Regions from separate parts of the Homo sapiens genome. Here all the other regions are linked to region 1. Evidence: promoter capture Hi-C in human tissues and cell types (Jung and others, 2019). All regions are on one chromosome and are shown on one strand. Each heading gives the region's core, a stretch centred on a gene start or on the middle of the fragment in contact. The rest is flanking DNA. Distances are from core to core; before and after follow the strand shown.

Evidence for each region. The method cuts DNA at HindIII sites, captures the fragments that hold promoters and counts their contacts. A contact is called where the count stands out against the background at its distance.
Region 2: a contact is called between a fragment that was not itself captured here and the fragment with the promoter of ZNF423 in region 1, in 1 of the 25 tissues and cell types used here (lymphoblastoid cells).
Region 3: a fragment that was not itself captured here is called in contact with the fragment with the promoter of ZNF423 in region 1 in 1 of the 25 tissues and cell types used here (lymphoblastoid cells).
Region 4: a contact is called between a fragment that was not itself captured here and the fragment with the promoter of ZNF423 in region 1, in 1 of the 25 tissues and cell types used here (lymphoblastoid cells).
Region 5: a fragment that was not itself captured here is called in contact with the fragment with the promoter of ZNF423 in region 1 in 1 of the 25 tissues and cell types used here (hippocampus).

What each region holds. Positions count from the first base shown.
Region 1 is chr16:49,854,380-49,857,962 of GRCh38, forward strand. It overlaps ZNF423 (zinc finger protein 423), which reads right to left and starts at 1,733. Exons shown (of 8, transcript NM_001379286.1): 1 at 1,356-1,733. The coding sequence starts at 1,395. RefSeq lists a silencer at 977-1,236. The HindIII fragment of the contact is 13,140 bases long and covers 1-3,583 here.
Region 2 is chr16:49,398,897-49,402,479 of GRCh38, forward strand. The region is part of intron 7 of LOC105371244 (a long non-coding RNA gene); the gene reads right to left. C16orf78 (chromosome 16 open reading frame 78) reads left to right here. Exons shown (of 5, transcript NM_144602.4): 5 at 235-535. The coding sequence ends at 382. Among named protein-coding and RNA genes, the nearest start is that of C16orf78, 27 kb to the left of the region's middle. The HindIII fragment of the contact is 3,495 bases long and covers 227-3,583 here.
Region 3 is chr16:49,416,159-49,419,741 of GRCh38, forward strand. All of the region lies in intron 2 of LOC105371244 (a long non-coding RNA gene), which reads right to left. Among named protein-coding and RNA genes, the nearest start is that of C16orf78, 44 kb to the left of the region's middle. The HindIII fragment of the contact is 4,694 bases long and covers 1-3,583 here.
Region 4 is chr16:49,512,079-49,515,661 of GRCh38, forward strand. All of the region lies in intron 7 of ZNF423 (zinc finger protein 423), which reads right to left. Among named protein-coding and RNA genes, the nearest start is that of LINC02179, 48 kb to the left of the region's middle. The HindIII fragment of the contact is 5,204 bases long and covers 1-3,583 here.
Region 5 is chr16:49,544,242-49,547,824 of GRCh38, forward strand. All of the region lies in intron 5 of ZNF423 (zinc finger protein 423), which reads right to left. Among named protein-coding and RNA genes, the nearest start is that of LINC02179, 80 kb to the left of the region's middle. The HindIII fragment of the contact is 6,595 bases long and covers 1-3,583 here.

The DNA of each region.
Region 1 (3,583 bases), core at 483-2,982:
ATCCTCCTTGCCAGATTCAGTTCCAGCCATTCCAGCCAGGCGCAAGGCTGGCAGGAAGGGAGCGGGGCCCCAGCGCCTTCCCGCGCAGGCCTCCAGGAAATGAACTTTTCAGAGCAGAACTGGGCTCAGGCCAGAGGTCATCAGGGGAGATGGGAGAAGACAAGGGCCTGGGGGCTTTTGGCTCCGTAGACTTAGCCGCTCTCATCGTTCCCCCCTTCCTCGATCATCTCCCATCTCACAGCCGAGCGCCCGGGCACCCAACCGAGGGGCTAGAATCGGGACAAAGCAGCAGGCAAGGCCTGGAAAGGCCAGCCGCGGGGAGAGGAGGCCAGGGGAGGGGCTCTGCTGCCGGCGCGCGGCCTTTCCCCGGGGCCTCTACTCTCCAGGGGTCCCCTCGAGCTGGGGGCCCTCGCTGGAAATAGAAAGCAAAGCGTGGAGACGAAGGGATGGGTGTGTGTATCTATATATCTGCAGCTCCCCACAAACGCGCGCACCCCGGGGAGCCAGCACAGAAAGCCGGCCTGGGTGTCGAGGGTGCCGGTGCCCGGGGTCAGATCCAGGGTGCCGGTGCCCGGGGTCAGATCCGGGGCGCCCTCCGCGGAGGGGCGCGCACCGCGGCCGCTGAGCTCCCCTGAGGACCTGCGTCCCGCCGGCGCCGTGCAGACAATGAACTCCTGGCGGAGGCTCCCTGCCCGGTGGGCCTCGGTGGAGGAGGCAGGAAGTGCAGGGGCCCGGGCCGGGAGAAGGCCTGGGCAGGGGCGGGAGGGGGCGCCAGGCGGCCGGGGCGAGGGCGCGGCGCCCGGGGCGCTCGCCGACAGCGCCCGCCGCTCCCCGCGTCCTCGGGCGACCAGGCAGGGGCCAGAGAGAGCCAGCGAGGCCCGGGGCCAGCGAGGAGCGGTCGGCCTGCCGGGCGCCCGTCCTCGCCGCCTCTTCCTTCCTCCTGTCGCCCGCCCGCCGCCGCCGAGATTCGCAATCCCCGCCAAGTCGGGCCAGCACCCCTTGATTGGCCACACGGGCCCGGGCCCCGCACGGAGGGAGCGGCAAGGGCCCCTTAGCGGCGCCCCCAGGCCTGGGTCCCCCAAGGGCGACGGCGCCGAGTCCGGGCAGGGAGGGTGTCCGCGGCGTACCCCCTCCGCCGCCGCCGCCGCCGCCGCCGCCTCCGCCTCCTGCTCCCGGCTTCCTCCTCCCCCTCCTCCGCCTCCGCCTCCGCCTCCGCCTCCTCTGCCGCCTCCTCCTCCTCCTCTCGGCTCGCTCGCGCGGGTCCCCGGCAGCCAGCCCGCTCGCCGGTCCCTCCTCCCTCGCTCCCTCCCTCCTCGCTCGCTCGCTCGCGCCTCCGCCGGGCCTCGCTCGCTCACCTTTCACCGAGCGCGGCTTCGCCTGCTTCCGCCTGGACATGTCCGGGGCTCCGGGCGCTCCGTCGCCCTCCGCAGCCGGCTCCCCCCGCCGCCCCCCGCCGCTCCGGGCAGCCCTTCTCCCCCTTCTCCTCCGCCTGTCTCTTGGAAACTTTTTTTTTTGCAGCCCGGTTGGCGGCTGTGGGGAGCGGACCGCAGGTCCGGGGCGGCCTCCCTTGGGGGGGCAGCCCGGGCCGGCCGAGGCCGCTCGAAGGCGGGGGGAGGCCCGGGGGGCGCGCCGGGGCCCTGCCTGTTGCAATGCGGCAGTCCGGGGCTCCCGATCCAAGCGGCGGTCCCAGCGGCGCGGGGAGTCCGGAGGCCACTCGGCCGAGCCGAGTTATGCAAAAAAAAAAAAAAAAAAAAAAAAAAAAAAGCCGCCCCCCTCCTCCTCCCAACCCCCCGCCGGCCCCCGGCCCCTGCGGCCCCCTCCTTCCCTCCCCCACCCTACCGCCACCCTCACCCTCCTCCTCCTTCTCCTCCTCCTCCGCCCCTTGCCGGATTTTTGTGCAAAGTTTGCAGGCGTCCGGCCACGCAGCCCGGTGCGGAGCTCACAATGAACCCATCTGAGGAGGGGGAACGGGGCTGGAGTCGAGGGTATCTCAAGGGGGGAGGAGACCGGGAGGCGGTCGGGAGCGCGGAAGCTCAGTACCCCCCAGGAAAAAAAAAAAAAAGAAGCCTTCGAATTATCCCCTGCCGCACAAAAAAAAATAATAAATATTAATGGCTCAAAAATGCCCAAGCGCCTGGTTTGGAGATTATGATGGATGGGGGGCGGGGGTCCCTCAACTCAGCCTACTTGGAGGGGAGGCTCGAAACGGCCGCAGTGGCTCGGAAGCCGCGGCTCGGGGCCCCTGGCTCACGCCCCCTTCTCTGGCTCTCGGATCGGCCCGGCGCCGGCCCCCCGGAGGAGGAAGGGGCGCGCGGGGGCGCTCAGGCGGCGGCCGGCAGGCGCGCCCGTGCCCCGGGCATCGCTCAGCCCGTGCGCCGGGCCGCCGCTGCCTGCCCTCGGGCTGCGGTGCTCAGCGCGAGGCGCGCAGCCGATCCCCAGGCCGGTGCCAAGTCGCCGGCCCCGCTAGCTGCCTCCATGGGCCAGGGGCTCGGAGAGGGGGGAGGCGGCGGCCGCGGTGGCGGAAGAGGAGGACGAGCAGGCGGCGGCGGCGGCGGCCGGGCTCCCGTCCTCCTGGGCAGCGGCGGCGGCGGCTGCGCCCCGGCTCCTCCGCGCTCCAGCCGGCGCCGGCCCGCCCGCCAGCCTCCCTCGCGCTCCTGTCTTCTTTGTGGTCGCTGGCTCTCCTCCTCCCGATCCGGCTGCTGGGGCTGCACTGCAGAGACACATAATAAAGCCAGGCTTGGCTGGAAATGTAGCCGGGTCCCAGCAGGAGGATGTGAGGAGCGGAGTCCCGGCGGGGGAGCGCTCTGATCCCGTGGGGCGCCCCGCACTGCTCCGGCTCGGATCAGACGGAGAGAGGGCCAACAGCACCGAGCGATGGACAGCGCTGGAAATACAGCTCCGGCCGCCCGCAAAACCCGGACCGTGGTGGCGGCGGCGGCGGCGGCGGCAGGCACGGCGCGGGCGCGGGCACCGCACCAGCACGCGGGGCCGGGGCTCGGGCGCTGGCTGCACCGGGGGCAGGAGGAGGGAACACACTTAGGGCCCACGCGGCTGTCAAGCTCGCCAAGACGCATGAGCCTCACAAACTGTAAAAAGTGAAAGAATGGGGGAGCAAACGGAGTTGGGCTGCCCTAGTATTGCCACCTCGCGATGTATGCCTCACGCACATGAACTATCCAGGGACCTGGCTCTGCCAGGTTGGCTTTTGCCCACCGGTCGGTGTTCAAAGACCACCCCTGCCCCACATCCAACAAATTCTTCCACCACTGGGCTAACCCCGTGCGCCCCCTACACCCTTATTTGTAGAATTCTCGCGCCTGGTGTGCACTTCCTCTGTCCGACTGTAAAAGGAACACCTTACCCCTGAGACCTTGCAGGAGCACCCCCTCCCCGCGCAGTTGTCAGAAGAAATAAACCAGCTGCTACTTTCTGCGAGGTTTTACCCAGCCGCCAGGGGGCGCCGCGCGTCCCCCGCAGCTCCTGAACCGGCTGAGACTCTGGTCTCCGGGCAGGCCCGGGAAGGGTTCTGACTTGGGAAAAGTCTTCCCCAGACGGCTCCCCTAAACCGTTCCTCGGAGCCTCT
Region 2 (3,583 bases), core at 724-3,223, 460 kb before region 1:
TTTCTCTGGAGTCAACCGACTGCCAAAAGAGTTACACAAACGCAAACTCCCGCCGCCTTTGTGGGGTGTCCCACTGTCTTATAAGGTCTCTATCAGCTCCATGGATGACTGGGAGAGACAGCCCCTTGCAGAGCACCCACACTTACTGCTGCTCAAATCTAAGCTCTTTTCAATAAAGTTAGAAGCTGCTGTGACTCCACCTTCAACTGACCTCTTTTGCCTTCTCTTGAACAGATACCTGAGGTTATCCAAGGAGAACATTCGGACCTTGCTCAAGTTGTGCAAGGATGCAGGAATGAATGTGGATATCCACCCCCACATGGTCGAAGAGGACATAGATGCTAAAAAGGTGTTCACCGGAATACCCAGCATGGCCCTCTAAATAGCTCCTCTCGCCACCACCTTCAGGCTCCTTCTGTCATGGGACCCTTCACCTCCAGATGCCATCCTCTGGCACACTACAAGTGGTCCTTCCAACTTAGTGCATCCCTTTAGAAAGTAAGCAATCAGAAAACAAGCCTCGGCTGTGTGATCATTGTGCTTCCGTAAGACTGGTCCTTGACATCCGAGTCAGAACCAGCATAGGAGAAACTGGTTTTTCTCCTGACCAAAAGAAGAGTCCTTAGAAAGGGCTTCTTAGGAAGGAAGGCTTAGGAGTAAAAAAAAAAAAAAAAAAAGTGGGAGGGGTCCAGGGTCCTCAGAGGGACATTAGAAAGCACGAAGTGTAAAGGGGCTGGTTGAGAACACACACACATGCCCCACGCCCATGGCACGACTTGGCTTTGTGGGGACTTGGCTTCCTTGTGTGCAGAGTGGGGGACTGATTGGGGCAGTGAGAGAGGGAAATGCTATCAACATATGGAGGCAAGGAAGGAGACCTTTGTGTGCTTACAACCACAGACCCCAAAAGGGGACCTGAAACCTTTCAGAGCTGGTAGGTGCCTCAACATCAGCAAGTCCAGGACCTTATTCATTTGAATAAAAGAAGCCACAGAGGGCAAGAAACTTGCTCAGAGTTACATAGATGAGAAACGGCAGGGTTGAGATGAAAACAGTATCTTCCCCAAGTCTCCTGCCCTGCTTTCTTGCATGACTGTGGCCAATCCTGCAGGAATTTTTTGAGACACAGCCTTCCCATCTGGGTATGCTGGCCAACCAAGGTCACAAACTCAGGCCCTTCCAGTCCCTGCAAGTGTTTCAAGCAAGTCTGAATCCCACGTGTCCTACTTAATAGCTGTGTGACTTTAGGAAAGTTACTTTACCTTTCTGTGCCTCTGTTTCCTCGCCTGTAGAATGGGTTTAATGACAGTATGTGCTGAGCAGGAGTGCTGTGAAGAGCACATGAGAGCTTGCATGTGAAGCAGGGAGCACAGTCAGTGACAGCCAAGAACTCCATACAAATGTGGGCTGTTTCGTAGTTCACTGGGGTAGACGAGGAGCTGATTTTCCAGCCGCTGCTTTTCTGAGAGGGATCCCCAAAACTAGGCACGTCAATCCCCTTGGAAAAGCTGCTAATACCAAATCCACATCTGCTCATGGCAAACCTAAACATCTAATGATCTCTGGGCCTCCAAGAGCTAGGCCACACCCCAGAGATACTCCGGTACAGAATCTCGGCTGGGCAGCCACTACTCCAGTCTGTCTTGTGAGCAGGTTTTACTCCCTGACTCCGTATACTAAAATAGCAGGGATTTTCCTTCCATGTACTTTTAAATTTCCATATCCTACCCTGAGGTTCTAAAGTAGTCTCTTGAAGGTAAGTAGGTCTCTCCACTGAAAGTCATTGCCACTGGGGCTCAGAGAGAGGCCCTGGGGGCTGCCGGACCCACCCTCCCCTACCCCACGCCAGCCCACCCTAGGGTTGCAGTCACCACTAAGGAATACAACACCCCTCCAAGGAGCGGGCAGGCCAGAGAAGTATGAGCCCATGTAGCTTGCCTAAAGTCACACAGCTACTAAGCAGGACACTCGGGATCCAGCAAGCGATGTTTAGACCGAACTACAGTGAGACCCAAGCCAGAATCCAAGGAAACAGCTGCAAAGGGTTAAGCGATACTCCCTCTCTCCAGCAAATACCAGTCCCTTGGGTAGAAACAGTGCTTCAAAAAGGTGAAAGGAAACAAATTTTCTGAGCATCACAAGTGTCAGGCACTTCGTCAATATTAACTCAACCAAAATCAAATCTGAAAGCATCCTCAGAGGCCTTCACTTCAGTATCACAGACTCGGCAGCTAGGGAGAGCACCGCCAACCTCTATCCTGCATTGATGGCCCTAGCCTTCATTGCCTGGTAAATATTCACATTCAGGCAGGACTAGTGATGAGGAACAAATTAAACAACAGATAAAATGGCCCTAAAAAGTTAAATGTCAGATATATTAACCATAGCGATGTAATGTGACAGTGACCATTTAGCCATTTCATCTTCAGACTTGTTTTTTCCACAGTTTTCTGTGATATAATTCAGTTTGATTATCTCTGCAGTATCCTTAGTGTGTCCCTTTTAAAAATGCAATAGCCGGCTGGGCGCAGTGGCTCACGCCTGTAATCCCAGCACTTTGGGAGGCCGAGGCGGGCGGATCACAAGGTCAGGAGATCGAGACCATCCTGGCTAACACGGTGAAACCCTGTCTCTACTAAAAATACAAAAAATTAGCCAGGCATGGTGGCGGGCTCCTGTAGTCCCAGCTACTCGGGAGGCTGAGGCAGGAGAATGGCATGAACCCAGGAGGCGGAGTTTGCAGTGAGCTGAGATAGCGCCACTGCACCCAGTCTGGGAGACAGAGTGAGACTCCACCTCAAAAGAAAAAAAAATGCAATAGCCAAAAATGGACCCAGAATAAGGCATGAAGCCAGTGGCTGGATTCCTTTCTTGTAATAAGGACTGACTTCCAGATGACATGTAGATTTTATGTATTCATTTTTCCCCTCCACCAGCTGTATTACATGGCTGATGTGCTATACTTCCCCTGTGGTCCACTAAGACCCCTGGATCATTTTCTGAAGAGCTGGAGTCATACATCAGTTCCATTCCTCCACAACTCACTAGGAGCCCCAATGTGAGAAAGGTATTCAGAAAAAAGGGAAGCCCAGCCCTTCTGATGTCACAGAGAAGCTGAGGGAGATGCCAGCATTTTGGCCTTAATCAGGAGCTCTCCTCACTGTGTTGTGCTTGGTAGTAGCAGGAGGATGTGTGTAATCCCAAATGCTGCATCCACTCTCAGCTTCTCCAAATCCACCCAGGGCCCACATTGTCCCTGACTTTTCACAGGTTTCGATTCATGTGCAGTCAGAGAAAGAGGGCAGACCTTGATCTCCTCTAGTCCATTGGCCTCCAGTCATATTCCTCAATCCTAACACTCAGCCATTACATAGTTACTAAGCACCCACCTATGGGTGTGTCATCCCTGCCCCTATGGGAGTCCAGGGATGCAGTCATTAAGAAAACCTGGTCCTGCCCACATGCGGTTTACAGTCCTGAAGACAGAGGAATAACAAGCTATTTGAGAGCACCACATGATGAGTGAGGTGAAGGGAATCAAATGTCCTCAGAGAACAGGGGGAGGAGGCCCTTCACCATGGAC
Region 3 (3,583 bases), core at 289-2,788, 440 kb before region 1:
CCCTCCATTCTTTCCATGTCCATAAGGCAATTAAGTCTTCACGTTCTCAAACCTGAAGGCTTTCATGGGCCGAGCCAATTGGTGTGTCTCCATAATGAGGGGGGCCTTCTGCGCCGGGGGCACATTTTCCTGGTAGCTTCCAGGCTCATCCTGGCCTGGCGGAGAGGCATCTGCTGCAGGCTCTGAGCTCTGCTGCCCACCCAGCCCTGGGAGGAGAGGTCAGAGCATGCTCTTTTCTCCCCGGGTTTACCTGGGACCGCAGACACAGCCCAGGACACCTCAAGGCCAGGGGGTGGGCTGCAGCCAGGCTAGGGGTGCAGGGCCGAGGCCCCGGTGAGCAGGAGGGTGGACTCTGACACATAGCCAAGGCGGGGGCTCTCTGAGCGGCGCAGGGCTGGGGCCTGGATGAAAGGCCTGTGAATAGGCTCATTACCAACGAGCCCCAGATTAAGCCTCTATTATGGGCCTATAATTGGAGAGTTAATTATTCAGCTGCCATAGTGTGCTGCAATGGAGCCAGGATGGTTCACCCAGATACCAGGCCTCGGCTCGGGGGTCTCCTGGGTTACCTGGCAGGACAGGACCGGTGTCAGGTGGGGAAGGGCCTCCCTAGACCAGGTCTTACCCTGGAAGCCAGGGGTATAGTGGGGAGCAGTGCAGACCCTCCCTGCCCTTATGGGGTGGGCAGTCGCACAACAGAGAGGGAGGCGGGGGAGATATGGCCACACAGATAAGAAAAAGTATGGCTGGGTGCAGTGTCTCACGCCTGTAATCTCAGCACTTTGGGAGGCCGAGGTGGACAGATCACCTGAAGTCAGGAGTTCGAGACCAGCCTGGACAACATGGTGAAACCCCGTCTTTACTAAAAATACAAAAATTAGTTGGGCATGTTGGCACACGCCTGCAGTCCCAGCTACTTGGGAGGCTGAGGCAGGAGAATCACTTGAACCCAGGAGATGGAGGTTGCAGTGAGGCGAGATCCTGCCATTGCACTCCAGCCTGGGCGACAAAAGTGAAACTCCGCCTGAAAAAAAAAAAAAAAAGAAAGAAAGAAAAAAAAAAGAAGAAGAAGAGAAAAGGTACTGGGAGGGGATAGTGCAAGGTGGCCTGTGGGTGGCTGCGGAGGCCACAGCTTCAGACCCCCGCTGGGAGAGCCAGGTCAGGAAGAGGCATTTCAACCTGGCAGAGTTGAAGCAGGAGAAGAGAGGCTTCCGGCAGAGGGAGCAGCAGGTGCAAAGGCCCAAGTGAGAGTTATGAAGAATGGGTTCGGGGTATGAGGTGGACTCCCAGGCAGAAACCAGACTAGTCAGGAGTTTTGTGGTTTAAAACAGAGGAATGACCAGGCACAGTGTCACATGCCTATAATCTCAGCTCTCTGGGAGGCTGAGGCAGTAGGATCACTTGTGCCCAGGAGTTTGAGACCAGACTGGGCAACACAGTGAGACCCCATTTCTATAGAAAGCACAATTTGAAAAAAACAGCTGGATGTAATGGCACACACCTGTAGTTTCAGCCACTTGGAAGGCTAAGGTAGGAAGATGGTTTGAGCCCAGGAGGTTGAAGCTGCAGTGAGCTATTATTGAACAACTGCACTCCAGCCTGGGCAACAGAGCAATACATTATCTCTAAAAAAAATAAAATAAAATGAAATAAAATAAATAAAACAGAAGAGTGAGAGGTTCAGCTTGGCATTTCTTACAGCTCATCAGGGCCACCATATGGAGAGAAACAAGGCAGGGAACAGAGAGACTTAGCAGGAGAGAACCATGGGCTCACCAGAGCCACCATCTGTAGAGAACCCAGGGGTGGCAGGGGAAGGGAGAAAAGTAGACACTGAGGGCTATGCTGATGTTACTAAGGCCAGAGACACAAGAATACCCAATCACTTCCCTGTCAATTACCACCAGCTCTCCACTCTGCCAGGAGAGCTGCGCACAGGGCCAAAGAGCAGGGTGCCTCAAAACCCACTCCCTCTTGGGCATGGGGAGGAAGGCAGAGCGCAGAACCCGTGGGGTAGTTGAGGCTTCACTGATCCTCTCAGATGCCTTCCTGGAGGAGGCGGCAGTGAAGGGGAGACAGGCAAGTCTCTCAGAGCAACCAGAAGACCATAGCCACCACCTCAAGTCTTCAGGAATCCCAGGGGCTGGGCTTTCTGTGGTCTCAACCGTGTGAGTTTCAAGGCAAGGGTGAGCCATCCTAGGATGGCTGCCATGGCTGGCAGTGAGGAGCGGGGAACTTGGAGACCCCGAAGGGCCTTCCAGTCCTAAAGTCCGGGGATTCCCCTGAGTCTGGGGGTCAAAGGATCTGGGAGAATGGATTTGAACAGCGACTCTCACTGCTAGGGAAGGGGCTCCATGGTCACCCGCCTTCCACATGCCAGAGACAGACCTGAGAAGGGAAGGAGCCCAAGCCAGTGGCTCACACAACCCCAAAACCCTCCTGGCTGAGGTTTTTCACACCCAAGATCACTGTGGTGGCAGTATTTGCCATGCTGTTCTTCTAGGACTCCTGGGGAGAAGCCTACTGTTTATTGATAAGGATAGAAATGATGCACAGAGAGCCCAGACATGCCGCTACCCCTTATGGGCATCCTTTTCCTAGCCCCATTTTACAGATAAGGGACAGGCTTAGAGCAGTGATGGAAGCTGACGATAGCTTCAAAAAGTGAAGCTCTCTGGTGCCAGGGGCTGAGCTCTTGGCTTCCTCAGTGTGGCACAGTGCCAAGATGGCATTTGGTGTCGGGGGATGCATGGAGCCACTGTGGCCACCCTGTGAACTAAGACCACCAACTGGCACCTTCACAGAGCCAGCAAAGAGCTGGGGCCCCTCTCAGATGGTCTCCACGCCAGAGGCCCCGGGCCCCCATCACGGGCCCCGGCTCTCATCATGCCTGCCCAACACCCCATGCAGGCGGGCATCTTGGCTGGGAGTCATTGTCTCTAACAAGTTAATTGTGATGGTGGAGTGCGCCTCCCCCTCTCCCGCTTCCCGGCGCCCGATCAAAGCATTCCCATAATGACAGGAGACCATGAAAGGAAACTTGTAGGTGGTTAAATGCGGTTTCTTGCCTGTGCAAGGCAGCAGGGAGGGGAAGGACTGTTTTGTTTAAGGAAAGCTGCCACGCCACTTTGATGTGAGGTTCGTTCTCTCACAGAGAAGATGCTAGTGAATGAAGCCAGCACCAGGGCGGGTGGAAGCTCAGAGCCTCACCTTCCATGGCAGACAGAGGTAACAGGCAGAGACAAGGTGGCAGAGCCGGGCCAGGGTGAGTGTGGGCAGCCTGCTCACTCTTCCTCCAAGAAGCACCATAGACATTGTCTGGAGTGAGGCTCAGGGCTGGCCACTCAGCTCAAAAACTTGCAGCAGCTCCCCATCCACAAATGGGTTTTCAAACTCCCAAGCAGCCAATATATTACAGCCATTAGAACTCCTTTGGTTGCAAGTGACAAAAACCACAACCCAAAGTGCGTAAGCAAGGAGGGAAATGTGTTAGCTCTTGTTAACTGACAGGTCCATGGCCAGCCTGACATCAGATAAGCTTGATCCAGGAGCTGGATGGATCAGCTCAGCTCTCCTTCCTTTG
Region 4 (3,583 bases), core at 540-3,039, 340 kb before region 1:
CACAAACACATAACAAAAATTCTGTTTGTCCTTATTAGCTTACTTTCCCCTCCCTGCAACATGTGAGGGGCTTAGTCTATGCCTCTGTTTGTCCCCAGCACCTATGCACAGCTGGCACAGATCAGGTGCTTAGTAAACACTTGCAGGCTAGATTGAGCACGTCCACACATGATTGATTGAATGAGTCAATGAACGCATTAACAGAAAGCCCACCACCTCCAGACCACAGGCAGGGCAATGACTAGGGCTCACCAACCTTTGACTCTGACCCAGACCCAATGCTGGGAGCTTTTCAGGCATCACTGCCTTCAGCTACCCCAGTACCAAACAAAGAAGGGCTCTTCAATAACCCTGGTCTCTTGAAAGCAAGAGAATGCCGGTGACTTGCTTATGGTCATGGAGCTGCTTGGTGGCAGGGCTGGCATCTGAGGCCAGACTGTGAGCTCCACAGCATGGGCATGGCATCGCCACAACATGTGGTCACATTCAGTAGAATTCAGGCTGTGCTGGGCTCTGGTTTCCTACCCTAGTGGGGAAGGCAGGAAGCATAAAGTGATCCTATTGGAAAAGGGCCACAATGACCCTCAGCAATCCTTCTATCCTAAGTGCTATAAAGTGCTTTACACATGCGAACTCCATCTTCACAACAACCCGAGGCAGCAGGTCTTACCCCATTTAACAGATGTGGAAACTGAGCCCAGAGAAATACAACATCTGCAGTAGGAAATAATGGGCGGCTGGGCACGGTGGCCCATACATGTAATCCCAGCACTTTGAGAGGCCGAGGCAAGTGGGTCACTTGAGGTCAGAAGTTTGAGACCAGCCTCGCCAACATGGTGAAACCCCTGTCTCTCCTAAAAATACAAAATTAGCCAGGCATGGTGGTGGGCACCTGTAATCCCAGCTACTCGGGAGGCTGAAGCAGGAGAATCACTTGAACCCGGGAGGCGGAGATTGCAGTGAGCCGAGATCGTGTTACTGCACACTCCAGACTGGGTGACCGAGTGAGACTCTGTCTCAAAAAAATAAAAAAGAAAATAATGGGGATTGGGAGACTTCGGGGGGTCAGCAGCCAGCCCAACTCTCAGCCCTCCCCAGGCTCCTGGCCTCACAAGTGGCTGACTCCAGCGTGAGCAACAGGTTCTCACTCCCTGGAACCACCACTGGGTGTCAGCCAGCAACTTCAGGCCACACCCATCTGGGCCCTGGTCTCCCAGCAGAAGTCAGGTTGACAAGGATGGGGCCATCTCTAAAGCAGGAAGGAGGAAGATGCCGCTACTCACAGAAAGCGCAGCCAGAGTCAAATGCTAAGTATGTGCCTAGAGCACTTTTGATTTTTAATTATTATTAGTTATAATTATCTGGCTGGATCCAACAGCAGCAGTACAAAGAGACAAGGAAACTGGCTCTTTGGTTACCCATCTTATAAGGACCAGGGATTTTAAAAATGGGCTCCCGGAATCTGTGGGTTTCCCCTTCTTCCTTTTCCTCCTTTCCTGCTTGTGTTCTCTTTCCGACTTTCCAGGAGCTCAAAAAATATGTTAACACATATGGGGATGGATGGATGGATGGATGGATGGATGGATGGATGGATGGACGGACGGATGGCAAAGGGTGTCTTCACTCTCCAAAAACTCACGTCAGAGTGGAGAGTTTGGTGTAGACGTAGTGACTTACAATCCATATGGCCAACGGAATCAGGGGGGTTAAACCAAGGGCTGGAGAAACCAAAGGAAGGAGAATCCGAGAGGCTTCTCAGGGGAGGAGGCACTGGAGCTGGGCTGATGCATTAAGAGAAAGAAAGGGTACTTCCTGCAGGCAGATAGGCAGGTGTACGTGCATCTAGGAAGCCCCATCTTGATCTCACTGGGTAGGCGATGCGAGGCCAGCCCAGGAGAATAATGCAGGAAGGCAGTGGCCGTCTGTCCTGCTTGCCCCTCTAGTCCCTCTGCCTTTTTATTCTGTTCTGAGAACACCCCAAATCTGCTTGGGCCTCAGATACTTGGTACTGGCTCTTCCCTCTCCTGGAGGATCCCCCAGCTCTTCCCCACACTGGCTCTGCAACCTCCAGGATTGAGCTGAAATGCCAGCCTTTCCTGACCACCCAACACACACACACACACACACACACACATGCACACGCACATGCGTACACACACACGCACACGCACACACACACACACATGCACATACACACACCACTCTCCATCACAGTACAGCGTTTTCACATTCTGAAATCCCCTAGTTCATGTATTTACTGACTTATCATCAGTGTCTCCCAAAGCATGTCAGCTCCATGAGAATAGAAACCCTGTCTCCTTGTTCCCAGTTCTGTCTCAGGCTCCTGAGGTGGTGCCGGGAGTAGGTACTCAGTAAATGGAATCAGGGCAAGGGCTGAATCAAATGTTCTCAAGGGCTAGGAAGGAAGGGTCCCAAGGGAGCTGAGATCCCGCCCCTGTCTCAGAGAGCTCTCCCTCTGGCCGGGTACCAGGACCCTGCCTGGCAGAGCCCGGCTCACCCTATCGAAAGGGCTCCGGGTTGCTTGTTAGAATACCTAGCTCTGCTTTTAATCAATTGTAATCATTTAGCTGGAAGCAGCATGATTAGGCACACACAAGCAAACAGCATGAGCTAATCCTTTAAATGCGCCCGCTCAACGCTGGGCTGGCCGCTTTGCCACCGCGGGCCCGGCTCACGGAATCACTTCCTGCAGCCCCTGGCTTTGTCAATGAGGGAGTCAAGATTCCAGGGCGTGGCGCTGGTCCAACACCCCAAAACCATCTTCATCAAGGACATGTGCATGTGTGCGTGCACACATACACGCGCTGTGAACTCTGACATGCCCTGGCAGGCAGTGCCCCACAGCTCCAAGATCCCAGAAGTTCTATGTCTAAAAAGACATCTCTCTAGTTCAAGTTCTATTCCCCCATGACAGGACCAAGCAAGTCATAAAGGGGAGAAAGGTGGCAGCACCATGAACCTGAGGTCTTAGGAAGTCCCTATCTCCGTGACGAGAATGAATCCTTCCTCTCCCCAAGCCCAGCCTAAGCCAAACCCATCCTGATGCTCATTTGCAAGCAACAGGGTTTGCAGGGTCCTGGCCTCGAGCTGCAGCCTGGCAAACGTGGCCATGCACAGCCCTGGCCCCGCGCGCACAGGCCCCATGGCGTTCCCACCTGGGCTCACCCAGGAGCAATTTTTCTTGCATCCCCTGTTACTGCTACTTGTGCTACCTGCTTGGCCCAACTACTAAAATAGTTTCTGGGTCCCCTGACAACGAAAGCTTTTTATAGTTCAGCACTGCAGGCCTCATTTAAATCTATTAGCTCATATAAATGGCAATTTATTTAAACTTTGGAGGGTTTCTGTTTGCCTTGGTGGCAAAGACAATCCAGCTTTATGTGTGGCTCTGCCATTTGCAAATGACCCTCGGCAAACCGCTTAACTTCTCAGAGCCTCAGTTTCTGTATCTGTAAATGGGGATGAGAGTACCTTGTTCATAGGGCTGTACACAATCCATGCAAAGTGCTCAGAACAGAGCCTGGCCCGCAGCACAGACCTAGGGCCCAGGGGTGAAGGCCAT
Region 5 (3,583 bases), core at 379-2,878, 310 kb before region 1:
GGCAATAGCAGGAAGGAGTGCAGGGAGCTACCAGAGGCCACTGGGTTCGACTTCTCGATCTGGATGTGTTCTATTTCTGCAAACTCATCAAGCTGTGCACTTAAGAGGTGTGCATCTCTCTGAACGTACGCTATACTTCAACAAAGTTTTAAAAAACCCTCACGTCTAATTAGGGAGGGAGATCAGCTGGGTATGCACATAAGCATTACACCAGGCAGGAAGGGGTCAGCTCCTTAAGAAGGGTGAATAAAATATTTGGGATGGGGGTCGAGGTAACACCAAGGGGGAAGAAACTTCCTCCGTGACAGGTGAGGATCACCTTAGCACATGTCTGGTGCATAGGTACCTACTGAATGGATGAGTGAATGAATAACTTCCTGAATGAGGTGGCCTTGGATGAACAGGCTGAGATGTGGAGGCAGAGAGGGCGTTCCAGGGGAGGGTGCTTGCAGGGGCTGAAGGCTTGGGAGGGTTTTCCTCACTGAGCCAGGTGCTGGCATGCAGCAGTGACCTGGGAGCCAGGGCTTTTGCCCTTGCTGGGCTCACAGTCTACAGGCATCAGACATCAAGACGTAACTCCAGGGGATCGCATCCTTCTTCTATTCTGCAGAAACTGAGCGCCCAAGCGCAGGGTGCAGCATTGGGTGCTGGTGATGTGCAGCAGAACAGGACAACAGGACCTCTGACCTCACAGTGTGACCAGAGGATCAGAGCTGAAGCGAAGCCAGCTTTACACAGTCACTTGCTCATCACAGTGGCACTATGGGGCCGGTGCCGTTATTATTCCCACTCCACACATGGAGAAAGTGACACTGGGTGAGGTAAAGTGATTGTCCCACGTGGCTGATCCAGGACCGAAATGCAACTCTTAACCTCTGCCAACAATGGCCCTTCCCCTTGGCCTCTACGGAACACTTTATCCCCAGGTCTGTTTCTCAGCCATGTGAGTAAGCTGGATGGAGGTGGCATTTTTCGTCCCATTCTGCAAGTTGGAACACTAAGCTTCTAAGTATCAAGTTGAAAAGATAGTAAGTGACAGAGGAAGTGAATCTCAGGGCCCTGACTCCTTGTCCAGTGCTCCTTCCCCTGCCCATTGCTGTTGGACAGGATAATGGGGACTGTCATGAAGAGGAGGCGCCGGGCAGGCTTGACAAGGGCAGCCCCATCACATCTCAACATGTGCAAGACTGGGCCTTGGCTGCCACATGACCATGCCACCCCATCAACCCTGCTCAGAGCCTGTGAGCTACACAGGTGTCATGCCCAGCCCTGCCAGCCAGGGTGACCCCCCACTCTAACTGTTCAGCACCGAGCCTCCGACAGAAAAGCAACCCCAGACTGCAGTGGTAGCTCATGCTGAAACAATTCTCCCAAGCTGCTTTAAATGGAGATTTTGCAGTTTGGGGTACAAAATTATTGTCCACGTCACATGGGGAGTGGGCAGAATGTATTTGCCTGTGCTGAGCCACAGTTCTGTCTCCCAAGCAAAGCTGAACAGACACTAGCCAAGACTGGGCTCGCTGAGTTAATAAAGATTAGCTCTCCTGGACTATCTTGGAGGCATTCAAGTGCTAACTACCTGCCAGGCATTCAGCTAAACACTTTACATCTGGGATGGGCTCATAAAATCTCTACGAGGAGGTCATGATCTTGTCCTCACTTTACAGTAAGTGACAGCGCCCAGGCCTTTCAACCACAGAGCTGTGCTCTTAACCCCAGGGCTGTGCTAACTTCCTTACCATTATTCATAATCGCCATTGGTAGCATAAGGATAGAGGCAATTAAATTCAACACTTAATTTCTGTTATGTGCAAAGCATAGAGCCAGGTGTTGGGAACATAAGCAGAATGAGAACTGACCTCTGTCTGCAAGAAGTTTCAGATTTTTATACCCACAAATGCAAGACATCTTTTCACTAAGGTTTTTTTTAATGATCAAGCACATTGCCCAGCATCTTGCACAATAAATGTCTTCTGACTACACAAACAAACAAAAGTTAACATTTTTTAAGGAGAACACATTTTCCTTCCCTACTGGCTGTTCTCAATTCCATTTCAACACCCCTCCATCCACTTAAACTGTGACTTTCTTCACTTCCAAACAGTACAAACGCTTTCATTAAGAAACTACTCGGTGGGGTGTCCTTGGGTAAGTTGGTGCCTTTTCTGAGCTCAGAGACCTCATTTGTGAAAGGAGGAGGTAGGATTTGATAACTCACAAGGTCACTCGGGGATAGAGTACTAGGATGTTAATGGCCAGTCCCCATCCTAACTGTAGAGGACTTTATCAGATAGTTGGCGGCTATAAAGGGATGAGCATGTGAGACTTCCATTACAAAGTTCAAGATTTAAACTCGAGGGCAAGACATCAGAAGGAGGCACTCATAGTGAGCGCGCACAGCAGCTGAAGCTATCCGTGGAAGCTCGAGATGTCATCAGGGGGCACAGAATTAAACGCCAAGGCTGAACCTTAATGCTTTTCGAATATTCCCTGCACTTCTTATCAGTCCCTATTGTCCTGTGCTCCTCAGCCCCACCCTGATCTGCTTGACCTCAAAGGTCATTGAGTTTGTGACCCCTGTGAAAGAGAATTCATTCTTCAAAGGCAAAGCAAGAGAGAAGAAAGAGCATAACATTTGTTAACTGGGGGACGTCAATGCCTGGTGCCTGGAAGCTGTGTGATCTTAGGATAGTCACCTAACTCCTCTGAGCCTCAGTTTTCTCACTGTCCAGAATGGACAAAAGTTTTATCTACTTGATACTCTTTCCAGAAAAAAAAAAAAAAACAATCAGCCAGCTTTCCCACACTTCCAATACCCTGCAGAAAGTTGTAAACTTTAGAGAAATCAACAAAGACCTGTGTATTAAGATAGGGAAAGCTATGTTGTAGTAACAACTCCCAAAATCTCAAGGGGTGCAATGGTTTATTTCTCATTTGCCCTTCACATCCATTGCAGGGGTTTCTGCTTGTGAAAAACACTCAGATGCTGAGAGTGCCCCAGGGAAAGAGAGAATGCTGAAAGGTCCCACTCTGTTGGTTAAAGGCTCCACTCACGGCTCTCTGGCCAGAATTAGCCACAAGGCTTCACCCAACACAAAGGGGCCACGATGCGTGATCCTCCCACATACCAAAAGACGACACTAAGGATACCACGTTAACAAGAAGAGCCATAAGGCTCAGCAGAGCACTCTAAGAATCTCAAGGGAGGAGTCAGGGACATAAGAAAAAAGATGAAACCTGAAAACTCAGGATGGTAACAAAGGTTCTCAGAGGATGTTTGCATTCATCAAGGCCCAGGAATGGTGGGGGTGAGCAGCTGGCAGCATGCTCTCCAACTCCCTGGGTCAGCTCCACAGTGGTGAGTGGGCCCTGGCGGGGAACCTCCAACCCCCACGCCCTCTTCTGAAGGCGGAGGGTGGCACGCTCCTTCCAGCACTCCACCACAGCCACCCAGCTCTCCAAAGAGCACAGCAGGTAAATGCTGGGCGTTGTCCTGGGGCTTCTCGCAAAAGTCGCTCTTGACGATAATGGCTTTAGGAGGCTATGCAACCACACGCCTGGCATCTGAAACATCATCTGAGGC